3 separate regions of the Homo sapiens genome follow, and all the other regions are linked to region 1. Evidence: promoter capture Hi-C in human tissues and cell types (Jung and others, 2019). All regions are on one chromosome and are shown on one strand. The core of a region is centred on a gene start or on the middle of the fragment in contact, and the rest is flanking DNA. Distances in the headings are between cores, read along the strand shown.

The links. Contacts are between HindIII fragments. The study calls those that stand out against the background at their distance.
Region 2: a contact is called between a fragment that was not itself captured here and the fragment with the promoter of AADAT in region 1, in 1 of the 25 tissues and cell types used here (hippocampus).
Region 3: a contact is called between a fragment that was not itself captured here and the fragment with the promoter of AADAT in region 1, in 2 of the 25 tissues and cell types used here (mesendoderm cells and pancreas).

What each region holds. Positions count from the first base shown.
Region 1 is chr4:170,088,074-170,092,076 of GRCh38, reverse strand. AADAT (aminoadipate aminotransferase) reads left to right here and starts at 2,121. Exons shown (of 13, transcript NM_016228.4): 1 at 2,121-2,453; 2 at 3,513-3,681. The coding sequence starts at 2,387. RefSeq lists an enhancer at 11-705 and a silencer at 2,605-2,899. The HindIII fragment of the contact is 6,677 bases long and covers 1-3,222 here.
Region 2 is chr4:170,045,157-170,049,159 of GRCh38, reverse strand. No RefSeq gene overlaps it. Among named protein-coding and RNA genes, the nearest start is that of MFAP3L, 21 kb to the right of the region's middle. RefSeq lists an enhancer at 3,156-3,695. The HindIII fragment of the contact is 3,764 bases long and covers 244-4,003 here.
Region 3 is chr4:170,124,178-170,128,180 of GRCh38, reverse strand. No RefSeq gene overlaps it. Among named protein-coding and RNA genes, the nearest start is that of AADAT, 36 kb to the right of the region's middle. The HindIII fragment of the contact is 6,977 bases long and covers 1-4,003 here.

The DNA.
Region 1 (4,003 bases), core at 872-3,371:
CCTGTTTTTCAGAGCTGATTGGTCCATTTTGACAGGGTGCTGATTGGTGCGTTTACAATCCCTGAGCTACACACAAAAGTTCTCCAAGTCCCCACTAGATTAGTTAGATACAGAGTGCTAATTGGTGTATTTACAAACCCTGAGCTAGATACAGAGTGTTGATTGGTGCATTTACAAACCATGAGTTAGATACAGAGTGCTGATTGGTGTATTCACAATCCCTTAGCTAGACATAAAGATTCTCCAAGTCCCCATCAGATTAGCTAGATACAGAGTGCCCATTGGTGCATCCACAAACCCTGAGCTAGACACAGGGTGCTGATTGGTGTGTTCACAATCCCTTAGCTAGACATAAAGGTTCTCCAAGTCTCCTCTAGACTCAGGAGCCCAGCTGGCTTCCCCCAGTGGAGCCGGCACTGGGGCCACAGGTGGAGCTGCCTGCCAGTCCCGGGCTGTGAGCCCGCACTCCTCAGCCCTTGGGCGGTAAATGGGACCGGGTGCTGTGGAGCAGGGGGCGGCACTCGTCAGGGAGGCTCGGGCAGCGCAGGAGCCCACGGGTGGGTGGTGGGGAGGCTCAGGCATGGCTGGCTGCGGGTCCGAGTCCCACCCCGCTGGGAGGCAGCTGAGGCCTGGCGAGAATTCGAAGGTAGCGCCGGTGAGCCGGCATTGCTGGGAGACTGGGCACACCCTCCGCAGCTGCTGGCCCGGGTGCTAAGCCCCTCACTACCCGGGTCTGGCGGAGCCGGCCCGCCGCTCTGAGTGCCGGCCCGCCAAGCCCACGCCCACCCGGAACTCTAGCTGGCTCGCAAGCGCCCGCACAGCCCTGGTTCCCGCCCGTGCCTCTCCCTACACACCTCCCCGCAGGCTGAGGGAGCCGGCTCCGGCCTCCGCTATCCCAGGAAGGGGCTCCCACAGTGCAGCGGCGGGCTGAAGGGCCCCTCAAGCGCGGTCAGAGTGAGCGCTGAGGCCGAGGAGGCGCCAAGAGTGAGCGAGGGCTGCGAGGGCTGCCAGCAGGCTGTCACCTCTCAATACTTCCTTTTTGTTATTTAGCTGCTAGCACAAAGATTTTACTGGGTTATCTCAGCCTTTTGCTGCCAGGACCTAGATAAAAGCAGTGGCTCCTTGACCAACCTATTAGGTAAACTTAAAAGAGAGCCATTTGGCAGTGAGTCAATAATCATCTAGGAAGTACTCAGTAAATTTGTGCTGAATGAATGAATCTGTTCATTCATTTTAATAACCATTAAAGAATTTTTTAAAGTCAAAGAGAGGTTGTCTGAAACCCTTCCCTCATTAAGTGCTCACATTAAACCTTGTACATTCCATTTTGGTGATTCAGGAAGGAGAAATTGCAGAAAAGTTGAGGGAGGTGGGGAGTAAGAAGGGTTATTTTGTAAGAAAAAAAAAGGCAAGGTGCTAGACCCAAAAAGATCCGGATATTCACTTCCAACATAATTCTTATTTAACGAAAGGTCAGAAATTCAATGTGAGGGTAGACACTAAAATTGAAGAGACTCAGAGTGATTTTTCAAAAATTTTTGTCAGAACTCCATCGTCACTCCAAAATGCTGAGATCTTCGAGAAAGTGATGTTGAAATTCGTCTTGGTCGCCGGGATGCTTCCCAGGAGAGTGCCCAGAGTTTCACTAACGAAAGATGGGTATTTAGCATAGCCATGGTCTGAGCGGGCAAAATGCACAGTCCCAGTGACTGAGAGGAGGCCAGCGGAGCGCGCGGGAACGAGGGTGGGGCCGCTCCCGGCTGGGCGCAGCTCGGGAGCCCCCTGCAGTGGACCCAAGTCGCCGCCAGATGGTTCCCGAGGATTAGGATCACGGGCACTTCCGGTCCCCTCGGTCAGCCCCTGGGCTAGCCTCTGGGCCGGCGCCTAGGCCGGCCAACGCGGACGCCGGGTTGCGGTGATTCCCAGCGGCGAGGTCAAGAGTCATTGGCCTGGGGCTGCAAGCGCCTCGCGCCTGGGCTACCCCGCGCCCTGCGCTCTGAGGGCGATGATCCGGGACGGGGAGGCGCGCGCCGCGGGCGGCCATAGGCCACGGCGCGGGGCGGGAGGGGGCGCGGCGAGGCCCGCGGCGGGGCAAAACCGGCCTGGGCCCTGGCGGCCGCAGGAGCGCGTGCGGCGTGGACTTTGCCGGGCTCGCCACACAGCCCCAGACCCGTTTAGGACCGGGAGACCGAACGCAGCGTCCAGCCGGGGAGTTTCGGCGGCGTTCTCCGGGCACCGCGCGCGGGAAGCCAGACGCAGCGGGGGGACACATCTCGCGGTGGCGTTGCCAGAGTGAGGAGTTAGCAGGCAGGACTTGACGAGGCTCTTTGGTTTTTCTAGTCCTCAACCACTGAAGAAGAAGCTTGATGCTTGGCTGTCAGAAGACATGAATTACGCACGGTTCATCACGGCAGCGAGCGCAGCCAGAAACCCTTCTCCCATCCGGACCATGAGTGAGAAACGGGGTGACCATCTCTCCTTTGGGGTGGGGCATTCCTCGCACAGCCTCTAAGGAGGGTTCCCTAGCAAGCCACCGCTTGGTTGCATCCATGCGTACCCCTGTGCACGCTCGCGGTGAGCCAGGCTCTGCGTGCAGAAATGAAATAGACACAGCCTTTGTTCTCAAAGAACTCGGGCTGAAACGGAAGGCGGGTATTTCTGCTGGAGCAGAGTAGGAGCAACAGTAGAGAGAGGCGCAGACTGCTGTGGGGCACGGCCTTGGAAGGGAGGGGGCGTGCTATCAAGAAAGGCTCTTCCTGGGAAGCTGAGAAGGGGCATGCACAGCGTGCAGATGGGTGTACAGTGGAGAGGGCCAGGTAAATGGGAGAGGGGTGGGCCATGAAGCTCACAGACAGGTCGGGGCTAAGTGGAGGAGGGCTTCTGCTATTGTGGCCCTTTGCTGTCTTTCTGATCCCTCTGCCTTCTCTTTGGTCACCTTCATTCTTTAGTCCCTCCACAAGTGAGGTGCCTAGAAAAAGTTATTCTGTATGTTTATTTTAGACTAGCTTTTGTCTTAGTCCATTCAGGCTGCTATAACAAAATACCACAAACTGGGTAATTTATGAACAATAGAATTATTTCTCACAGTTCTGGAAGCTAGGAAGTCTAAGATCAAAGTGCCAGCAGCTTCTGTGTCACCATGGTGAGAGCCCTTCCTTATAGACAGAGCCATCTTGCTGCATCCTCACGTGGTAGAAGGGAGAACCTATGTCCTCACGTGGCAGAAGGGCCAAGGGCATTCCCTCAGCCCTCTTTTATAAGTGCACCAATCCCATTCAGGAGGGTGGATCCCTCCTGACCTAATCACCTCTAGAGACCCCACCTGTTAAAACTATCACATTAGTATTAACTTCCAAGTATGAATCTGGGGGAGCACCAACATTTAGACCATAGCACACTCTATCACTAGAAATCGTTAAACTTTATAGTTTTATTGACTATAATGCATGCTTAACTATCCGCTTATAACAATCTTCAATGAAATTGTTTCTTCTCTTCCATGTGTATTGTAGCTGACATATTGAGCAGAGGACCAAAATCGATGATCTCCTTGGCTGGTGGCTTACCAAATCCAAACATGTTTCCTTTTAAGACTGCCGTAATCACTGTAGAAAATGGAAAGACCATCCAATTTGGAGAAGAGATGATGAAGAGAGCACTTCAGTATTCTCCGAGTGCTGGGTAAGTATCAATACTTAACATAATTTTATTGGCTTATTTTCATAAGAAATATTCTAAGGCCCATTGATAAAGAATATTAAAGAAATATTCTAAGGTCCATTCATAAATATTCTAAAGCCATTGACCCATTTGGTCATTCAATGACCAAATACTCAGTCATTGAATACTAACCAAATGAGTATTCAATGGTTAGGAAGGTCTGGGGAAAGGTTTTCAAAGGATAATTAAGAACAGAAAGGATATTGAATGTTTAACACTCCTCAGTGATTGCTTCTCAATCGCAAATGACCAAGAAGGCTTCTAGAAGGAAATACCATTAGAG
Region 2 (4,003 bases), core at 876-3,375, 43 kb after region 1:
TCAGGTCAGGGCAGGTTGGTGGTTGAAGCATTTAGGGAAGGATGTTTATAACAACTTATTTTTTACTTATTATAGGAGTGCATGCTCATCACAACCAAAATGAGTAATTGAGGTGGTCAGGGGTAGAGCAGGCCTTCAAACTCAGTTATCTGTCCCCTAGAGCAGGGTTGCCCAACCCCCAGTCCATGGCCCAGTAGGAACTGGGCTGCACAGCAGGAGGCGAGCTTCATCTGTATTTACAGCTGCTCCCCATCACTTGCATTTCTGCCTGAGCTCCGCCTCCTGTCAGATCAGCAGGGGCATTAGATTCTCACAGGAGCGTGAACCCTATTGTGAACTGCACATGTGAGGGATGTAGGTTGCACACTCCTTATGAGAATCTAATGCCAGATGATCTGTCACTGTCTCCCATCATGCCCAGGTAGAACCATCTAGTTTCAGGAAAACAAGCTCAGGGCTCCCAGATTCTACATTACGGTGACTTGTCTAACTTTTTGTTATATATTACAACGTAATAAAAATAGAAATAAAGTGCACAACAAATGTAATGCACTTGAATCATCCCAAAACCATCCCCCCAACCCCGGTTCATGGAAAAATTGTCTTCCACAAAACCAGTCCCTCGTGCCAAAAAGGTTGGGAACTGCTCCCCTGGAGTCATGATACAAGACTGTGTCACCTTAGGGCTGAGCTGAGGATCACCTGAGTGATGGGTGACCTTGGGGCTGGGCTCAGAGCCAGTGAGAGGAGTGGGGGACATCTTTATGCTGGGGTTCCAGAAGAGGACAAAGCAGCATTGCCAATATGTTTGTGAGATGTCGTCAGAAAAAGATAAGGTAGAGGAGTGCAGTTATGCAGCAGGTTCAGCAACACTTAGAGATCTCTCACCTACAGATGGATGCTTAGCTCACATTGCTCAAGAGAAAGGAGCATAAATGCAACTTAGCCCCTAAGTTGTACATTTCAAAGACTCAGAAATATGCAGCCAGAGATTTGTTATCAACAGTCATCAAGAGGGAAGGATAAACACGAAAGGCTTGTGGGAATGATAATTGTTAGAATGTCCAAGCATCAATAATTTGTGACAACCTAGGACATCTCAAAAGTCTGTATGTTGGATTGCTTTGAATTGGATTTATCACATCCTATGCTATCGTGAAAAACAAGTTTGAAATGTAAATGAGCAACACATCTTGACCAGCAGGCGGCAGTCTTACCTCATATAATTTCTTTAAAAGCTTGCAGAAAGAATTACAGTAAATTATTTTTTTTTAATTGTACTGAAAATTTATTAGAATGGATTTTTTAAATGCCAAATTCACAACTAAAATGCAATTTATTGCAAAAAATTCAAAATTCCTTTTTGTCTCAGTATAAAAAACATTGAATGTATCTATTAGAAATTAATGAACAATTTTGTAAATGATACAAAAGAAAATTTTAACAAATGGTGAAACATTTTCTTATCTCAGGACACCAAATTAAAAAAAATTTAGGGCAGGTGCGGTGGCTCACACCTGTAATCCCAACTACTTTAGGAGGACAAGGCAGGAGGAACTCTTTTTTTATTTTATTTTATTTTATTTTATTTTATTTTTTTATTGATCATTCTTGGGTGTTTCTCGCAGAGGGGGATTTGGCAGGGTCACAGGACAATAGTGGAGGGAAGGTCAGCAGATAAACAAGTGAACAAAGGTCTCTGGTTTTCCTAGGCAGAGGACCCTTCGGCCTTCCGCAGTGTTTGTGTCCCTGGACTTGAGATTAGGGAGTGGTGATGACTCTTAACGAGCATGCTACCTTCAAGCATCTGTTTAACAAAGCACATCTTGCACCGCCCTTAATCCATTCAACCCTGAGTGGATACAGCACATGTTTCAGAGAGCACAGGGTTGGGGGTAAGGTCACAGATCAACAGGATCCCAAGGCAGAAGAATTTTTCTTAGTACAGAACAAAATGAAAAGTCTCCCATGTCTACCTCTTTCTACACAGACACGGCAACCATCCGATTTCTCAATCATTTCCCCACCTTTCCCCCCTTTCTATTCCACAAAACCGCCATTGTCATCATGGCCCGTTCTCAGTGAGCTGTTGGGTACACCTCCCAGACGGGGTGGTGGCCGGGAAGAGGGGCTCCTCACTTCCCAGTAGGGGCAGCCAGGCAGAGGCGCCCCTCACCTCCCGGACAGGGCGGCTGGCCGGGCACGGGGCTGACCCCCCCCCCCCACCTCCCTCCCGGACGGGGTGGCTGGCCGGGCAGAGGGGCTCCTCACTTCCCAGTAGGGGCGGCCGGGCAGAGGCGCCCCTCACCTCCCGGACGGTGCGGCTGGTCGGGCGGGGGGCTGACGCCCCCACCTCCCTCCCGGACGGGGTGGCTGGCCGGGCAGGGGGCTGACCCCCCCACCTCCCTCCCGGACGGGGCGGCCAGCCAGGCAGAGCGGCTCCTCACTTCCCAGTAGGGGCGGCCGGGCAGAGGCGCCCCTCACCTCCCGGACTGGGCGGCTGGCCGGGCGGGGGGCTGACCCCCCCCACCTCCCTCCCGGACGGGGCGGCTGGCCGGGCGGGGGGCTGACCCCCCCACCTCCCTCCCGGACGAGGTGGCTGCCGGGCGGAGACGCTCCTCACTTCCCAGACGGGGTGGCTGCTGGGCGGAGGGGCTCCTCACTTCTCAGACAGGGCGGCTGCCGGGCGGAGGGGCTCCTCACTTCTCAGATGGGGCGGTTGCCAGGCAGAGGGTCTCCTCACTTCTCAGACAGGGCGGCCGGGCAGAGATGCTCCTCACATCCCGGACCGGGCGGCAGGGTAGAGGCGCTCCCCACATCTCAGACGATGGGCGGCCGGGCAGAGACACTCCTCACTTCCTAGATGGGATGGCGGCTGGGCAGAGACGCTCCTCACTTTCCAGACTGGGCAGCCAGGCAGAGGGGCTCCTCACATCCCAGTCGATGGGCGGCCAGGCAGAGACGCTCCTCACTTCCCAGACTGGGTGGCGGCCGGGCAGAGGCTGCAATCTCGGCACTTTGGGAGACCAAGGCAGGCGGCTGGGAGGTGGAGGTTGTAGTGAGCCGAGATCACGACACTGCACTCCAGCCTGGGCACCATTGAGCACTGAGTGAACGAGACTCCGTCTGCAATCCCGGCACCTCGGGAGGCCGAGGCTGGCGGATCACTCGCGGTTAGGAGCTGGAGACCAGCCCGGCCAACACAGCGAAACCCCGTCTCCACCAAAAAAATACGAAAACCAGTCAGGCGTGGTGGCGCGCGCCTGCAATCGCAGGCACTCGGCAGGCTGAGGCAGGAGAATCAGGCAGGGAGGTTGCAGTGAGCCAAGATGGCAGCAGTACAGTCCAGCTTCGGCTCGGCATCAGAGGGAGACCGTGGAAAGAGAGGGAGAGGGAGACTGTGGGGAGAGGGAGAGAGGGAGAGAGGGAGAGGGAGAGCTAAATTATTTTATTCTATGTGATATCTCAACAGGAATCTAAATATAAAACTCATATTTAGAATGAATTATAAATTGAATATTATTTAATCATACCGTGGCCTGGAGTTCTATGACTAATGATAACTAAACCTGTTCATTCAACTAACTGCAAAAATACAAGACACGTGTAGCTATTACTTGAATTTACCATCAAGACATATTTCAGCACACTAGATAGAAAAGTATAATGTCTAGACTACTCTTAAGTCATAGGGGGGCAAATACAGTTAAATATCAATTTTCCAATTAAGATATTTAATTTATTTTGCCTTCCTATGTCAGGCCTGTATAATTTTATATTACATACCTCAGAAGTCTCATTCATTTTTTTCAAATGTATAAGTTTTCATTCACTCTAAAGAAATATTACTTTCAATGTTTTAGAACGGTTAATGTATGGTTGCAATTTTTATAACATTTAAAAGCATATGTCACATACTTAGTCCATTTTGTGTTGCTATAACAGAATGCCACAAGCTAGGTAATTTATAAGGAAAAGAAGTTTATTTGGCTCATGGTTCTGG
Region 3 (4,003 bases), core at 466-2,965, 37 kb before region 1:
ACACAGATACAACTGGCTCTTATTGAGAGGTGACAATGTGCTAGCAGCCCTCGCTTGCTCTCATCATCTCCTTGGCCTTGGAGTCCACTGTGGCCACACTCAAGGAGCCCTTCAGCCTGCTGCTGCACCATGAGGGCCCCTCTCTGGGGCAGGCCAAGGCCAGAGCCAGCTCTGTCTGCTCGCGGGGAGGTGTGGAGGGAAAGGCATGGGCAGGAGCCAGAGCTGTGTGCCGCGTTCACAGGCTGGTGTGGGTTCCAGGTGGGCATGGGCTCGGCAGGCCCCACACTCAGCACAGCCAGCTGGCGCCTGCTGGGCTTGATCTGGGGATGAGCTCCCTCTGGGCTGCCAGAGTGCCCAGGCTAGGTGCCGCTAAATCCCATGGCGAGTGCCACTGAGAGGTGAAGCTGGCTGGGCTTCTCGGACGGGTGAGGACTCAGAGAACTTTTCTGTCTAGCTAAAGGATTGTAAATGCACCAACCAGCACTCTGTGTCTAGCTAAAGGTTTGTAAACACCCCAATCAACACTCTATGTCTAGCTAATCTAGTGGGGACTTGGCGAACTTTTCTGTCTAGCTAAGGGATTGTTAATGCACCAATCAGCACTCTGTGCCTAGCTAAAGGTTTGTAAAGGCAGCAATCAGCACCCTGTCAAAACAGACCAATCAGCTCTCTGTAAAGTGGACCAATCAGCTCTCTGTAAAATGGACCAATCAGCAGGATGTGGCTGAGGTCAGATAAGGGAATAACAGCAGGCTGCCCCAGCCAGCAGCGGCAACCCACTCGGGTCCCGTTCCATGCTGTGGAAGCTTTGTTGTTTTGCTCTTCATATTCAATCTTGCTGCTGCTAACTCTTTGGGTCTGTGCTGCCTTTATGAGCTGTAACACTCACTGTAAAGGTCTGCAGCTTCATTCCTGAAGCCAGTGAGACCACGAACCCACTGGGAGGGATGAACAACTCTGGTTGGGAGGAACGAACAACTCCGGACATGCCACCTTTATGAACTGTAACACTCACTGCGAAGGTCTGCAGCTTCACTCCTGAGGCCAGTGAGTCCCCGAACCCACTGGAAGGAATGAACAACTCCAGACGTGCAGACTTTAAGAGCTATAACACTCACCGCATAGGTCTGCAGCTTCACTCCTGAAGTCACCGAGAACACAAACCCACCAGTAAGAAGAAACTCCAGACACCTCCAAACATCAGAAGGAAAAAACTCCAGACACACCATCTTTAAGAACTGTAACACTCACCGTGAGGGTCTGCGGCTTCATTCTTGAAGTCAGCAAGACCAAGAACCCACCAATTCCAGACACATTATCACTTTAAATTTTTTGGATTTGTCTAGAGATCAGGTTATAATGGCAGCAGAGCAGCATTTGACAGGGCAAAAAATAAATCCTCATGAAGGAAAACATGAGTGGTGGAAGGACGTCAGAACTAAAACCTGGGAAAAGGGCAAAATCATTACATGGGGTCGAGGGTTTGCTTGTACCTCACCAGGAGAGAATCAGCTTCCTGTCTGGGTACCACAAGACATCTTAAGCTGTTCCATGAGCCAGAATCCAAGGAAGAGGAAAAGACCTCAGAATGTCCCTGCACCCCCAGTTCATCTGATGGCTCAGATAAACATCTCTGTTGAGCAGATGGAAACCAGTAAAACTCACCAAGCAACTCCACTGACCTGGGGGCAGATGAAGAGACTAGCTCACATTGCAGAAGAGAAACTGAGGTCTCAGAACAAGCTGCTGACCATGAGTAATCTAATGGTAGCTATGATGGTGGTAATCTCCCTGGTGGTGAGTCTCCCCATAGCTGAGGCAGATCAAAATTACACACAGCCCTAGCAGAGGCTCTCCATGAGAGTCTTGCCCCTGTAGCAAACTTCTGCCTGGACATCGAGGTGTTTCCAGACATCCTCTGAAATCTAAGCAAAGGTTCCCAAACTCCAATTCTTGACTTCTGTGCACTGGCAGGCTCAACACCACATGGAAGCTGCCAAGGCTTGAGGCTTTCACCCTCTGAAGCCATGGCCCAAACTCTACATTGGCCCCTTTCAGCCATGGCTGGAGTGGCTAGGCCACAGGGCACCAGGTCCCTAGGCTGCACACAGCATGGGGGGCTTGGGCCCAACCCACAAAACCACATTTTCCTCCTAGGTCTCTGGGCCTGTGATAGGATGGGTTACCATGAAGGTCTCTGATATGCCCTGGAGACATTTCCCCCATTCTTTTGGTAATTAACATTCAGCTCCTCATTACTTATGCAAATTTCTGCAGCTAGCTTGAATTTCTCCTCATAAAATGGGATTTTCTTTTCAATCACATTGTCAGGCTGCAAATTTCTGAACTTTTTTGCTCTGCTTCTCTTATAAAACGGAATGCCTTTAACAGCACCCAAGTCACATCTTGAATGTTTTTCTGGTTAGAAGTTTCTTCCACTAGATACCCTAAATCCTCTCTCTCAAGTTCAAAGTTTCACAAATCCCTAGGGCAGGAGAAAATGCTGCCAGTCTCTTTGCTAAAACATAACAAGAGTCACCTTTGCTCCAGTTCCCAACTTCCTCATCTGAGACCACCTCAGCCTGGATTTCATTGCCAATATCATTATCAGCATTTTAGCCAAAGCCATTCAACAAGTCTCTAGAGAGTTACAAACTTTCCCACATTTCCCTTTCTTCTTCTGAGCCCTCCACAATGTTCCAACCTCTTCTTGTTACCCAATTCCAAAGTTGCTTCCACATTTTTGGATATCTTTTCAGCAGCACCCCACTTCTAGTACTAATTTATTATATTATTCTGCTTTCATACTGCTGATGAAGACATACCCAAGGCTGGGCAATTTACAAAAGAAAGAGGTTTAACTGGACTCACAGTTTCATGTAGCTGGGGAGGCCTCACAATCATGGTGGAAGGCAAGGAGGAGCAAGTCACATCTCACATGGGTGGCAACAGAGAGCTTGTGCAGAGAAACTTGTGTTTTAAAACCATCAGATCTCATGAAACTCATTCACTATCACAAAAACAGTGCAAGAAAGACCCGCACCCATAATTCGAACACCTCCCACTGGGTTCCTCCTATGACATGTGTGAACTGTGTGAATTACAACTCAAGATGAGATGTGGGTGGGGACAAATCCAAACCATATCACTATGTAACCCAAATGCCACAAACAGTGTAAAATAATTGAAGTGCTTACTTGTCCTAGAAATATTTATGGAGTACCACAGATGTTCCAGGAACTAAGGAAAGCAGTTCATTCTGAAAAATGAAAGGAAATAAATTAAAAAGGCATGAGGGCCAAATGTTCTTGGCCCCCTAAATGACTGCTAAAAAATCACTGACAGGAGGCAGATTGATTAATGAAAGAAAGGGCATACAAATTTATTTAACAATATATAGAAGGGAGCCTTCAGAATGAAGACCCAACATCCCAATGAGTTACAGACACTTACATACCATCCTGAGGCCACTGTAAAGAAAGCACACTCAGAGGATTGCCAGAAACAGCTAAATCAGCTTCAGTGGCAAGAGGTGTTAAGAGAGAAAAGAAGAAGTTTGGCTAGCAAAGATGGCCTTGTTATGTGGAGGAAGCCCCCTTCAGAGGAAACAGATGGTAAATGTTTCCTTTCAGACTTTAAAAGATGTCAGACTGTCAGTCTCTCCTGGACCCAGGGAAAGGAATAGGAAGGGGAGGGAGGCATGGCTGCATTAAGGGAGATTCTCTGCAGATGCAAATTTTCCCCACTTAAGATAGTTTTGCAATGCCACCTCTAATAGGATGGCCAAGAGGCAGCCATTTCAAAATACATCAAATAAATATATTTGGGGGTAAAATATTTTAATTTCCTTCAGTCTCCTATTTGCAATTTAAAATAAGTTTCATATCAAAAACCAAGCTGATAGCTTTGGAGAGATTTGATCTAGAGATTGTTAGACAGAGATAGAGAAAGGAGTAGAAAGACAAACTGAGATAAATAGAAAGGAGCAAATTTAAATATATCT